Regions from separate parts of the Homo sapiens genome. Here all the other regions are linked to region 3. Evidence: promoter capture Hi-C in human tissues and cell types (Jung and others, 2019). All regions are on one chromosome and are shown on one strand. The core of a region is centred on a gene start or on the middle of the fragment in contact, and the rest is flanking DNA. Distances in the headings are between cores, read along the strand shown.

Region 1 (2,826 bases), core at 57-2,556, 150 kb after region 3:
CAGGTACTCAAGATTTTCCCCTATTTTGAATTAGTTTTTGTATAAGGTGTTACACTTAGGTTAATGTTCATGTTTTTATCTATGAATGTCCATTTGATCTGGCATCTTTTCAAATGTATGCATTGCATTTAGTACTATAAATTTTCCTCTCCACACAGCTTTAGCTGTATCCTAGAAATTTTGATATGTCATATTTTCATCTTCATTCAGTTGAATGCATTTGTTTTTTATTTCCTTCAAGATCTCCTCTTTGACTCATGGACTTAGTAGAAATACCTTGTATAGCCAGGTGGGGTGGCTCATGCCTGTAATCCCAGCATTTTGGGAGGACAAGGCGGGCGGATCACCCGAGGTCAGGAGTTTGAGACCAGCCTGGCCAACATGGTGAAACTCCGTCTCTACTAAAAATACAAAAATTAGCTGGGCGTGGTGGTGGGCACCTATAATCCTAGATACTAGGGGGGCTGAGGCAGGAGAATTGCTTGAACCCAGGAGGCGGAGGTTGCAGTGAGCTGAGATTGCGCCACCGCACTCCAGCCTAGGTGACGGAGCAAGACCCCGTCTCGGAGGGAAAAAAAGTACCTTGTGTAGTTTCCAAGTATTTGAAGATTTTTCTGCCATTAAATATGATTTTGATTTTGTTGTGATCCTAGAAGACACTTTGTATGATTTTGATTCTTTTAAATTTGTTGAGGTCTGTTTTATGGCATAGGTTATTTGGTCTAGATTGATATATGTTCAATAGATATTTAAAAACAATATATAGAATGCTCTTGTTGAGTGAAATGTTTTATAAATGTCCTCTAGACTCTAACTGGATCAAATTCTGTTGATGGTGTGGTTGAATTCTTCTTTCTCTTAGCTGATTTTCTGTATAATCATTCCATCAATTGTTGAGAGTGGGGTGTCAAAATCTCCTAATATAACTGTAGATTTGTCTAATTATCTTTTTATTTCTATCGGTTTTTGCTTCACAATTTTCAGCTCTGTCTTTTAGTATAAACACATCTAGCATTGCTATTTCTTCCTTGTAGATTGACCCTTTTATCTTTATATAATGTCTCTCATCTCTGGTAATTTTCTTTGCTCTGAAGCCTACTTTTTCTGATATTAATATAACCAATTTTGCTTTCTGTTTTTAAATTATTATTATTTATTATTATTTTTTATTTCCATGGGTTTTTGGGGAACAGGTGGTGTTTGGTTACCTGAATAAGTTCTTTAGTGGTGATTTCTGAGATTTTGGTGCACCCATCATCTGAGCAATGTACACTGTAACAAACGTGTAGTCTTTTATCCCTCACCTGACTCCCACCATTTCCTCTGAGTCCCCAAAGTCCATTGTATTATTCTTACGCCTTTGTATCCTCATAGCTTAGCTCCCACCTATGAGTGAGAACATACAGTGTTTGGTTTTCCATTACTGAGTTACTTCACTTAGAAAAAATGGTCTCCAATTCTATCCAGATTGCTGCAAATGCCATTATTGTGTTCCTTCTTATGGCTGAGTAGTATTCCATGGTGTGTGCGTGTGTGTGTGTGTGTGTGTGTGTGTGTATCACAATTTTTTATGCACTCATTGATTGGTGGGCCTTTGGGCTGGTTCCATATTTTTGCAATTGTGAATTGTGCTGCTATAAACATGCATGTGCAAGTATCTTTTTTGTATAATAACTTCTTTTCCTGTGGGTAGATACCCAGTAGTGGGATTGCTGATCAAATGGTAGTTCTACTTTTAGTTATTTAAGGCATCTCCACACTATTTTCCATAGTGGTTGTACTAGTTTACATTCCCACCAGGAGTGTAAAAGTGTTTCCTTTTCACCACATCCCCACCAATATCTATTTTATTTTATTTTATTTTTTTATTATGGTCATTCTTGCAGGAGTAAGGTGGTATCACATTGTGGTTTTGATTTGCATTTCCCTGATCATTAGTGATGTTGAGCATTTTTTCATATGCTTGTTGGCCATTTGTATATCTTCTTTTGAAAATTGTCTATTCATGTATTTAGCCCACTTTTTGATGGGACTGTTTGTTTTTCTTGCTAATTTGTTTGAGTTTCTTGAAGATTTTGGATATTAGTTATTTGTTGGATGTATAGATTGTGAAGATTTTCTCCCACTCTGTGGGTTGTCTGTTTACTCTGCTGATTTTTTTTTCTGTGCAGAAGCTTTATCTTTTAATTAAATACCATCTCTTATGTTTGTTTTTGTTGCACCTGCTTTTGGATTCTTGGTCAGGAAGTCTTTGCCCAAGTCAATGTCTAGAAGGGTTTTTCTGATGTTATTTTCTAGAATTTTTATGGTTTCAGAACTTAGATTTAAGTCTTTGATCCATCTTGAGCTGATTTTTGTATAAGGTGAGAGATGAGGATTCAGTTTCATTCTTCTACATGTGACTTGCCAATTATCCCAGCACCATTTGTTGAATAGAGTGTCCATTCCCCACTTTTGTTTTTGTTTGCTTTGTTGAAGATTAGCTGTAAATACTTGGCTTTATTTCTGGGTTCTCTATTCTGTTCCACTGGTCTATGTGACTATTTTTATACCAGTACCATGCTGTTTTGGTGACTATGGCCTTATAGTATAGTTTGAGGTCAGGTAATGTGATGCCTCTGGATTTGTTCTTTTTGCTTAGTCTTGCTTTGGGTATGTGGGCTCTTTTTTGGTTCCGTGTAGTTCTGTGAAGAATGATGGTGGTATTTTGATGGTAATTGTATTGAATCTATAGATTGCTTTTGGCTGTATGGTCATTTTCACAATATTGATTCTACCCATCCATGAACATGGGATGTGTTTCCATTTGTTTGTGTCATCCATGAT
Region 2 (2,792 bases), core at 48-2,547, 210 kb after region 3:
TGTGTAACTGCCTGCCAGAGTGGCCCGCTTTGTCCTTCATTGCCCTCACCTCTGCTCCTCTGGGAGAGATAAGGAGAGAGCGGACCAAGCCCTCTCTTCTTCCTCTGGCTGGCCTAGCTCTCCAGGGTGGCTGGACATAGCCTGTGGCCACAGAGAACCGCCAGGTTCAGAGGCTTGGTCACCTCTGAAAACATCTGCACATCTTGGGCCAGGAGTGTGTATGGAGACATTTGGGTACCAGGACCCCAGGGCACTCCAGATACCCAGCTAGGCCCTGTAGGGTCCCTCCTGCCTGGTCTACTGGGTTGGGAAGAATAGGACACAGGGTCGCTCAGGGAGCTTGAGGTCAGCAGGCATTGCTTCATGATAGCAACAGTTTAAGTTGAAATAACCAGTGGGCTCAAATTGGTGCTGTTACCAAGACCAATAGAGAAAGAATGAGAAGACTTCGTTTTATAAAATTCAGAGCATACTTCTGATTGTTGGCCTGTGTCAGGCATCAGGGCAGACATCAAGAGCAAGTTAGAATCAGACCATGGCCTTGCCCTCAGGGCGCTCACAGTCGCGGCCCCAGACAGGGAAGTCAACTGTTGGGGCTACTTGCTATATGTCATTTAAGGGCCCAGTTCTCAGAGATGACCTGAGTGCATTCATCACTTCTGGGGCATATTGTGTGTAATTCTGGAGTCCACTTTGGCCATCAGGATCCTCAGCGTGCATGGCAGAGTCTTGTTGCCACACTCAGGCTCTCTTCTTGATCTTGAGGGGATGGTACCAAGATGCACTTGGATCCCAGAAAAATGTTAGACCCCTTAAAGGGCTGTGTCTACAATGCACTTACACCAAAAAGTATCCCCAAGACATTGGGTTCTCAATTGCTTTTCTGCTTCTCTTTAAGTGCTATCCTGTCCAGGGCAAAAAAACCACAAACCCATAGGTATTAGTCAGAGTTTTCCAGAAAGACAGAACCAATAGGAGATATAGAGATAGATATAGACAGATACAGATATAGGTATATGAGAGGGGGATTTGTTAATATAGAGATAGATATAGACAGATATAGATACAGATATATGGGGGGATTTGTTAATATAGAGATAGATATAGACAGATATAGGTATATGAGAGGGGGATTTGTTAATGTAGAGATATAGATATATGAGAGGGGGATTTGTTAATATAAAGATAGATATAGATATATGAGAGGGGGATTTGTTAATATAGAGATAGATATAGACAGATATAGGTATATGAGAGGGGGATTTGTTAATATAGAGATAGATATAGACAGATACAGATATAGATATATGAGAGGGGGATTTGTTAATATAGAGATAGATATAGACAGGTATAGATATAGGTATATGAGAGGGGGATTTGTTAATATAGAGATAGATATAGACAGATACAGATATATGAGAGGGGGATTTGTTAATATAGAGATAGATATAGACAGGTATAGATATAGATATATGAGAGGGGGATTTGTTAATATAGAGATAGATATAGACAGATATAGATATAGATATATGAGAGGGGGATTTGTTAATATAGAGATAGATATAGACAGGTATAGATATAGGTATATGAGAGGGGGATTTGTTAATATAGAGATAGATATAGACAGATATAGATATATGAGAGGGGGATTTGTTAATATAGAGATAGACATAGACAGATATAGATACAGATATATGAGAGGGGGATTTGTTAGTATAGAGATAGATATAGACAGGTATAGATATAGGTATATGAGAGGGGGATTTGTTAATATAGAGATAGATATAGACAGATATAGATATAGATATATGAGAGGGGGATTTGTTAAGGGAATTGGCTCACAGGATTATGAGGCTGAGAAGTCCCATGACAGATTGCCTGCAAGCTGGAGACCCTGGGATGCTGGTATCACGGCTCAGGCCAAGTCTGAAGGCCTCAGAACTGTAGAAGTTGATGGTGTAATCCTCAATCTGAGGGCGAAGGCCTGAGCACCTACGGGACTGCTGGTGTGAATCCCAGAGTGCAAAGGCCTGGAGCCTGAAGTTCTGATGTCCAGGGACAGGGGAGGAAGAGTCCCAGCTCCGGCAGACAGAGGGAGACACTCACCTTTCCTCTGTTTTTGTTCTCTCCGGGCCCCTAACCAATGATGGCACCCACCCACATTGAGGGTGGACCTTCCCTACCCAGTGTGCTCCGACTCACACCCCAAGCTCCTCTGGAAACACCCTCACAGACACACCCAGAAATGATGTTTGACCAGTTCTCTAAGTATTCCTTAATCTAGTCATGTTGACACCTAAAACAAACATCACACCATAGTTCTGTGGTCTCTAATTTCTGTGGCAACTTAGTAACTCTCAGAGTTGGGTGCAGAACAATCACTTGTGTGTGCATTTTGAGGATGCCACCTTGATGGCACCATGGTGCTCTGTGGCCCTCTCTCGTGGACAAAGCATGGGGCTCCACGTCTGACATGGGGGCCTCCTTGGACTGGGTCTAGGGTCTGCCCATCCAGACGCATTACTGATTTGAATGTCCTTGCTCCAAATTCTATTTCCATCTTAATATCTATCAGCAGTGTGTCAACAAGGCTTTCCAAGGCATTATTAAGAAGGCCATCCTCCTGGCCGGGCATGGTGGCTCACGTCTGTAATTCTAGCACTTTGGGAGGCTGAGGTGGGCGGATTGCTTGAGCTCAGGAGTTTGAAACCAACCTGGGCAACATGGTGAAACCCTGTATCTATAAAAATTACAAAAATTACCTGGGTGTGGGTGGCAGGTGCCTGTAGTTC
Region 3 (2,700 bases), core at 181-2,680:
GGAGGCTGCAGGGAGCCGTGATCGCTCCACTACACTGCAGCCTGGGTGACAGAGCCAGACCCTGTCTCAAAAACAAAACAAAACAAAGCTTTTTGCCTGTGAATTCCATGAACCATTCTACTTCCTACTGAAATACTAAGTGCCAACATCTACTGAGTGCTTCCTGCATACTAGGCATTGTATTATTTGTATTTTACATACGTCATCTCATTTAACCCTCACAACAACCCTGAGGTACTAACAGGTGCTAATCTATGTCACCGTCGGGAAACTGAGGCTTGGGCATGAAACGTGCCCAGGGGTTACATGGCTACTGAGTGGCTGCGGTGGGACTGGATCCCAGGCAATCCGACATAAGAGTTCCCATAACAACCGCTAATAATACAACTAAGAGAACAACTCAGTCCTTGGAGTAGTCTACAATGTGAGGTGGTATTATCACGGAGAGTCCACGTGCAGACCTTTCCCTGCAGGCACGCACGCTAGTAAGCATTTACTCGTAAGCATGCTTGCAGTTCAGAGCTTCTAGTCCACCCAGAAAACGCTTTCTATGCATTCCTCTGGATCTCCTTTTGTAGTCTTCCCAGGGATTGAAGACCTGGACACCGGCGCCAAATCTGAACAGACTCTCACTACACCAGTTCATGGAACAGGAAATCTCTGTCTCCGGCAACAGGTTAAGTCTGAAGACTGAGGCTACCTGCTGTCCAACAAACTTTAAAGGCTGACTTCAAAAGGCAGCCAGGCCTAGCTAATGCAACGGGGCCTTCCCTCGCCGCTCTTCCTGCGACAGGGGCGTTCCTGAAGGGAGGCTGAAGAGCAATGGGCCGACGCCGAGCCTGCCGCTCCCTCCCGGCGGGCACAGGAAAGGTGGAGCCCGCAGCCGTGGGTCCCGCTCCGTGGCGCGGAGGGCCGGGGTCTCGGCGCCGCCCCGTCCCCCGCCCCGCCACTGCGGCACGGCTGAGTCACCACCGCCTCCGTCCCGCGGCGGGGCCGCCCAGGCCAGAGGCCGGGAAGGTCGCGTCCCCCGGGCTTGGACAGCCGTCGGGGTCGGAGCCAGGGCTGGGGCCGGGGCTTCCAGGCGAGCCTCGCGCCCTGCTCGCTGTTCCGGGGCGGGGAACCTGCGGCTCGGGCCACTCACGCGGAGGCTCGGGGGAGTCTACGGGTGGCGCCGGGCCCGGTCCCCCGAGGCCGAAGGGAGCCGGGCACCAAGAAGCCAGGCTGGGCCACCCGCCGCCCCACACCGGCCCGGTCTCGCGGCCGCTCCCGCTCCGGCTCCTCACTCCTACCGCTCGCCGCCCCGCTTACTTGGCTTTGAGGCGCAGCAGCTCCTCAAACTGCCCGGCTGAGCCGACCTCCTCCACGGCCGCTACAGCTGCCTCAGCCGCCCCCGCCGCCATGCTGCCGCCGCCAGACAGAAGCAATCCAGTGCCGGCGGCCGGATGTGGGCGGGGCCACGGGGAGCTGAGCGGCTGCGCGAGGGAAAGCCCCGCCCCTGCCTGCGCTGAGGCTGCCGAGCCTGAGAAATCCCAAAAGGGGCCTCGGCGGCGGGCTCTGGATCCCGCTGGGGGGCTCTGACCCTGCCAAGTCTGGGCACTCCGCTGCGGGCCTCCTGGCTCCCGGGGTTCATGGCTGTTATGGTTCCTGGCTGTCGGGGCTCCTGGCTTTCGGGGCTCCCTGGCTGAAGGGGCTCCTGGCTGTAGGGGCTCCTGGCTATGGAGGTTCCCGGTTATAAGGGCTTCTGGATGTAGTGGATTCTGGCCGTCGAGGTCCCTGGCTGTCGGGGCTCCTGGCCGTAATGGCCCCTGGCTGTCGGGACCCCTGGGTGTCGGGGTTCCTGGCTGTCGGGACCCCTGGGTGTCGGGGTTCCTGACTGTAGGGGCTCCTGGGTGTTAGGGTTCCTGGCTATAGCAGGGGCTCCTGGGTGTCGGGGTTCCTTGCTGTCAGGGCTCCTGGTGGTAGAGGCTTCTTGCTGTTGGCTTCCTGGCTGTCGGGGTGACTGGGTGTCAGGGCTCCTGGTGTTAGGGTTCCTGGCTTCCTGGCTGTAGTAGGGGCTCCTGGGTGTCGGGGTTCCTTGCTGTCAGGGCTCCTGGTGGTAGAGGCTTCTGGCTGTTGGGGTTCCTGGGTGCCAGGGCTCCTGGGTGTCAGGGTTCCTGGCTGTCAGGACACCTGACTCCTGAGGCTCCTGGCTTTTGGGGCTCCAGACCTTCCTTGCACTTCCTGTGTCTCCTGGGTCTGTAATAGAAGGGGCCGGTGGAGGGGTGGGGGTGAGACATGTGAGTGAAAGTGAAGTCAGATGTGTACATTTAGGAAGCTGAAATTATCAAAAATGAAATTGCATAAAGGTGAGGAAGAACTGGGAGGTCTGGGAACAGAAGTGGTAGATCTTGAACTTCAACACAGACAGGGTGCTTCCAATTCAGTCCTGGGACCTGAACCCGGAGCCCACAGCATGTCCCTCCTCCCCTGGCCCTCCGCGCGTGCCGCCACTCATTGCAGCCCCACAGAGCCATCACCCATTGTAACCTCAGAACAGAAGGGGCTGGGTGGGTCCACAGATCCCTGCACTCCTCCCGTCTTGCCTCCTTGGATGATCCCTGGCTTGTCTTTCTCCCTTGGGAATCCCCCTGATGTTGGCTCTCCATGTGGTGTACTCTGTACCCCACACCCCATGCTTCCCACACACCTTCTGGCCTGAGT

Evidence for each region. Contacts are between HindIII fragments. The study calls those that stand out against the background at their distance.
Region 1: a contact is called between a fragment that was not itself captured here and the fragment with the promoter of GLRX3 in region 3, in 1 of the 25 tissues and cell types used here (mesendoderm cells).
Region 2: a fragment that was not itself captured here is called in contact with the fragment with the promoter of GLRX3 in region 3 in 1 of the 25 tissues and cell types used here (H1 embryonic stem cells).

What each region holds. Positions count from the first base shown.
Region 1 is chr10:129,988,319-129,991,144 of GRCh38, reverse strand. No RefSeq gene overlaps it. Among named protein-coding and RNA genes, the nearest start is that of EBF3, 25 kb to the right of the region's middle. The HindIII fragment of the contact is 5,652 bases long and covers 1-2,826 here.
Region 2 is chr10:129,929,339-129,932,130 of GRCh38, reverse strand. All of the region lies in intron 6 of EBF3 (EBF transcription factor 3), which reads left to right. Among named protein-coding and RNA genes, the nearest start is that of EBF3, 34 kb to the left of the region's middle. The HindIII fragment of the contact is 4,939 bases long and covers 1-2,792 here.
Region 3 is chr10:130,135,121-130,137,820 of GRCh38, reverse strand. It overlaps GLRX3 (glutaredoxin 3), which reads right to left and starts at 1,430. Exons shown (of 11, transcript NM_006541.5): 1 at 1,309-1,430. The coding sequence starts at 1,400. It overlaps LOC105378561 (a long non-coding RNA gene), which reads left to right and starts at 1,450. Exons shown (of 6, transcript XR_001747659.2): 1 at 1,450-2,700. RefSeq lists enhancers at 1-320, 599-648 and a silencer at 849-1,448. The HindIII fragment of the contact is 8,385 bases long and covers 1-2,700 here.